Linked DNA regions of Homo sapiens: region 1 is linked to region 2. The links are contacts of gene promoters, found by promoter capture Hi-C in human tissues and cell types (Jung and others, 2019). All regions are on one chromosome and are shown on one strand. The core of a region is centred on a gene start or on the middle of the fragment in contact, and the rest is flanking DNA. Distances in the headings are between cores, read along the strand shown. Region 1 overlaps SPINK8 (serine peptidase inhibitor Kazal type 8 (putative)). Region 2 holds the start of CDC25A (cell division cycle 25A).

Evidence for each region. Contacts are between HindIII fragments. The study calls those that stand out against the background at their distance.
Region 1: a fragment that was not itself captured here is called in contact with the fragment with the promoter of CDC25A in region 2 in 1 of the 25 tissues and cell types used here (IMR-90 fibroblasts).

The regions. Positions count from the first base shown.
Region 1 is chr3:48,317,675-48,320,374 of GRCh38, reverse strand. SPINK8 (serine peptidase inhibitor Kazal type 8 (putative)) reads left to right here. Exons shown (of 8, transcript NM_001080525.3): 6 at 757-878. Among named protein-coding and RNA genes, the nearest start is that of MIR2115, 2.6 kb to the right of the region's middle. The HindIII fragment of the contact is 4,808 bases long and covers 1-2,700 here.
Region 2 is chr3:48,186,987-48,189,686 of GRCh38, reverse strand. CDC25A (cell division cycle 25A) reads left to right here and starts at 1,270. Exons shown (of 15, transcript NM_001789.3): 1 at 1,270-1,909. The coding sequence starts at 1,740. RefSeq lists a silencer at 1,604-1,813 and an enhancer at 1,557-2,185. The HindIII fragment of the contact is 16,525 bases long and covers 1-2,700 here.

The DNA of each region.
Region 1 (2,700 bases), core at 82-2,581, 130 kb before region 2:
GGTTTCACCATGTTGGCCAGGCTGGTCTCAAACTCCTGACCTTATGGTCTGCCCACCTCGGCCTCCCAAAGTGCTGGGAGTGCAGGCGTGAGCCGCCATGCCTGGCCCTTCATCAGAAATTTTAACCTGGAAAGACATTTCCCTACTTCTGCTCTCTGTAACCTACCAATCACATTTTGGGGTTGGTACAAAAATATGATTGTTAGGTTACAGAGGGCAGGGATTTTTATCTTTTTTTTTTTTTGGAGACGGAGTCTTGCTCTGTCGCCCAGGCTGGAGTGCAGTGGCGCGATCTCGGCTCACTGCAAGCTCCGCCTCCCAGGTTCACATCATTCTCCTGCCTCAGCCTCCCCAGCAGCTGGGACTACAGGCGCCCACCACCACGCCCGGCTAATTTTTTGTATTTTTAGTAGAGATGGGGTTTACCGTGGTCTCGATCTCCTGACCTCGTGATCCACCCACCTCGGACTCCCAAAGTGCTGGGATTACAGGCATGAGCCACCGCGCCCGGCCGGTATTTTTATCTTAATAAAGAATTTATGGGAGTCTGGAGAGTGCACAGATTATATATTATTTTGCAATTATATACATATTGTGGGTGGTAACTGTTGGGGTCAAACACTGAGGCTTCTGAATCCTTTTCTCTGAACTCCTGATCTGGTGCTCGTATTCCATCCACCTCCCAAGCTATACATAATAACGGCCAAAGGACCTGGATGAAAGTGTCTGAAGCAGTTGTGTGTGTCTCACCTTCAGGTTGAATGCCTCAAGAATGTAAATAAGTGCTGGTTTTTATCCTACATCAAGCCCAGTGAACCTATTTGTGGCAGTGACCAGGTTACCTACAGTAGTGACTGCCATCTGTGCTCCAAAATTCTGTAAGTCCTAATTTTGTTCTCCCTTTCTTTCAAGTCAAGAGGTTAAGAGTGGTCAAAAGAGGGTGATGACCTCAGCCCACTTCCTACATCATCCAATGAGACCTTCTCTCCAGACATTCCTCCAGTATTTGTTCCTCCCTTTCTTCCATTCCTTTCTGTGACCTCAAAAGGTACATGTGATCCTATTCAGACAATGCAGAAACAGAAATCCACTAAGGTGAGGGCACTGTGTGTGACCTGGACAAGCCTCAAGTGGAGGCACTCAGAAACAAGCAGCCATAGCATGTAGATCATGTGACCCTACATGAAGGTCATCCTCATGCCCCCTCAGGCCAAAGAACAGAAACAAAGAACAAAAAGAAGAGGAAGAGGAAGCTGGGTGAAGAATCTTCCCAGCTAATAGTTTATTGGTCCTAAAATGGATATTATTTTCCAAAACAACTTTCTTTTGCTTTCAACTTAGTATGTGGTTTAGTCTCTGCACCCATCACATGTTAGAAGCTTTGAGTAACACACAAGTGAAACGCCCAATTGTTTAGCCCAAGGGGAATAGTGAGGAGCAGGGGTTTGTATGAAGGAAACTCCGTATACAGTTAGGAGGATTCTCTGACATCTGCCTTCTCCTTTAAGGAGAAAAGCCACACCCTTGTCTAACTAAGGCTTACAAGTTGAGTGCTATCTTAAGAGAGAAAAGCAAAAACACAAGAGTAGATCAGAATTAAGTCTCTCTCCCCTTCCTCTTCTTAGCTTCTCCTCCAGAGAAGGAATAAGAATCTTCTTGATCAGGATGAGAGATATTTGGCTGGGCAGGATCGGACTTTCTTGTATTCTTGGCTGAATAAACACTAAAGCTTACACTAGAACCCATACGAGAGTTGTAAGGTAAACAACTTTGGTGTCAGCCTCAATCACTGGCACAGACGCTGACACCTGACAATCAGAAAGCATCATCTGGGGAATGCGCAGCATGACAGAGTCAAACGATGCTGGAACCAGGAGACATCTGAGAGATGGCCTCTAAAGAGCTCCCTTTCAGTGTATCTTAGAAATTATTCTAGCTGGGCGCAGTGGCTCACGCCTGTAATCCCAGCACTTTGGGAGGCCGAGGTGGGCGGATCACCTGAGGTCAGGAGTTCGAGACCAGCCTGGCCAATATGATGAAATCCCGTCTCTACTAAAAATACAAAAATTAGCCGGGTGTGGTGGTGCATGCCTGTAATCCCAGCTACTCAGGAGGATGAGGCAGAAGAATCCCTCGAACCCAGGAGGCGGAGGTTGCAGTGAGCTGAGATTGCATCACTGCACTCCAGCCTGGGAGATAAAGCAAGACTCCGTCTCAAAAAAAAAGAAATTATTCTCTTAGCAGTTGCACTGGATATTACAAGTTAAATTCTAATTTATACCAATCTAATTTGGATTAATACCAACTTAATTACAAAAATTTTAAAAAATATTTTTGCCTGGAGGGGTGGCTCAAGCCTGTAATCCCAACACTTTGGGAAGCTGAGGCAGAAGGATTGCTTGAGCCTAGGGATTTGAGACATGAGCAACATAGCGAGACCCTGACTCTACAAAAAAAAATTAAAAAATTAGCCAGGCATGGTGGCACCTGCCTGTAGTCCTAGCTACTTGGAAGTCAGGATGATTGCTTGAGCCCAGGAGTTCAAGGCTGCAGTGAGCCATGATCGTGCCACTGCACTCTAGCCTGGGCAACAGAGCAAAGTTCTTTTGAGACGGGCAGATCAGGAGGTCAGGAGATAGAGACCATCCTGGCTAACATGGTGAAACCCCATCTCTACTAAAAATACAAAAAATTAGCCAG
Region 2 (2,700 bases), core at 21-2,520:
GGGAAGGGAGGTTCCTGGGTGGTGGAGCACTGGTGCACAGAAAAGGAGATGAATCCTGAGAGAGAGGTTCCTCACTGTGAAGGGTCTGGTGTTGGGGCCAAAGGTTTGGGGTTTCCACCTGTCCAGCATGGCTTTTCAAACTGTAGGGTTTTTTTTTTTTGAGTGGGGGGCAGGGGGTGTCTCACTTTGTTGCCCAGGCTGGTCTCAAATTCGTGGGCTCAGGCAATCCTCCCACCTCGCCCTCCCAAAGTGCTGGGATGATAGGCGTGAGCCACTAAGCCCAGCAGTAGGTTGCAATTAAATCATGCACTTATGGCCCTCAAAATCCGTCTAGGAGCTGCCACAGGTTCGGCGCTGTAAAAGTAAATATGCCCACTTAGAAAATGGGGATAATTCCTATGTCACAGAGTTGTAAAGATTAAATGAATTAATACAGATTAACACACTGGGAACAGTGTCAAGTGCATAAGCATTATGTAAACTTTAGCTATTATTTGCTATTATTGTGTTTGCTGTTATTTCTCTCTAGGAGCTCCCAGGGGGCTAAGAAGTGGTGGGAAAGAAAGAAATGATTCTAAGAGCATCCAATAAGGGCTAGAATGGAAGTGAGCAAAAAATGCTGAGGCCCACAGCACAGGTTGTACTGCGGGGTTCAAATCCCATGAGGCCAGCAGCACCCAGGGTCTGTGAGCCCTCCAGAGTTGGGCCCTGGTGGTCGAGTCCAGTCCTGGGGGTCATTGCATTCCCTCCCTCATTATAAAATGGGGCCTGGAGGCCCGGGGCGGAAGAAAGGGGTCCACAATACTGCACGGTTAGAGGCCGAGCCAAGGCTGGATCCGGCCAGACCTCCACAGGTCTTCCTTAGCCTCCACATTGCCTCAGAGTGTGGGGCGCCCGGCTGGGGGCGAGGTAGCGGAGGCCCAAAGGGGGCCGAAGCTAACTGGACGGCAGCTCGCGATGGGAACTACGCTTCCCAGCATGCGACGGGGCAAAGGGGCCTTTCAGCCGCGAGCAGCGCCTCGCAGGTTCTGCTGGGAGTTTTCATTGACCTCTGCTCCCCCTCTCATTTTGATCCCCGCTCTTCTGCTCTGGGCTCCGCCCCCTTCTGAGAGCCGATGACCTGGCAGAGTCCCGCGAGCCGCTTTCTTCTTCCCCTCTCATTGGCCCAGCCTAGCTGCCATTCGGTTGAGAGGAGGAGAAGTTGCTTACTGATTGGTGGATTCCGTTTGGCGCCAACTAGGAAAGGGGGGCGGGGCAGCAGCTGGCCCCACTGAGCCGCTATTACCGCGAAAGGCCGGCCTGGCTGCGACAGCCTGGGTAAGAGGTGTAGGTCGGCTTGGTTTTCTGCTACCCGGAGCTGGGCAAGCGGGTGGGAGAACAGCGAAGACAGCGTGAGCCTGGGCCGTTGCCTCGAGGCTCTCGCCCGGCTTCTCTTGCCGACCCGCCACGTTTGTTTGGATTTAATCTTCAGGTTGCCGGCGCCCGCCCGCCCGCTGGCCTCGCGGTGTGAGAGGGAAGCACCCGTGCCTGTGGCTGGTGGCTGGCGCCTGGAGGGTCCGCACACCCGCCCGGCCGCGCCGCTTGCCCGCGGCAGCCGCGTCCCTGAACCGCGGAGTCGTGTTTGTGTTTGACCCGCGGGCGCCGGTGGCGCGCGGCCGAGGCCGGTGTCGGCGGGGCGGGGCGGTCGCGGCGGAGGCAGAGGAAGAGGGAGCGGGAGCTCTGCGAGGCCGGGCGCCGCCATGGAACTGGGCCCGGAGCCCCCGCACCGCCGCCGCCTGCTCTTCGCCTGCAGCCCCCCTCCCGCGTCGCAGCCCGTCGTGAAGGCGCTATTTGGCGCTTCAGCCGCCGGGGGACTGTCGCCTGTCACCAACCTGACCGTCACTATGGACCAGCTGCAGGGTCTGGGCAGGTAAGGAGAGACCGGCGGGCGGTGCTCCGGGCCCCTGGCCTCGGTGTCGGCCTCGGAGAGATCAGGCCAGGAAACGGACCGGGAGAAGGGCGAGACCCGTCCGTCCGGGTTCGCCGCTCGGGGACAGCCGGGCTAGGGCCTGCCATGTGCACCCCCGCCCGGGCGGAATGTTGGGCGGGAGAGGCCGTCGGGACCTTCCAGGGGAAGAGGTGGAGATCCTTGGGCCTAAGCCCGAGCCAGGCCCACCTTCACCCCTTTCGGATTGCTCCGTACTCTCCTTCTATCTCTATCCCTGGAAGCTCTTTGGAATCTACCCCCGCGGGGAAAATCAGGCTCTTCTAGGCACTCACTTTCACCCTTTGCTAAACCATCCTCAGGATCTTCGTTTGCTGTGATCTTTGTTCCTTCTCAACAAAGGACCATGGCATTTTCTTTCCTGGCGTTTATGTAAAATCATCTCAGTCCCTCGCCCTGTGCACATTCCTGATGTCCACTCTGCTGCTTTCCTAAGGCCAGGTCTTTTTACCCAACTTTCAGAAAGCTTCCTGGGCTTTTCCTGATAGCAAAAAATGCATCCCACGGTGTTTCCCGCGGAAGAGCTACTTTCCCTTCAATCTCTGGCATCCCGTTTGCTAAGCACATGTCTTGTGCGTTTCCCAACTTCTGAAAAGCAGAAAGTGTCCTGTTCAACTTTCATCCCGACTCTGTCTCAGTACTTAGAACACATGCTTTTATTTTAGGAAATACCCCAACATTTGCCATAGCCATCATAACCTGCAATGTGGTCCAAG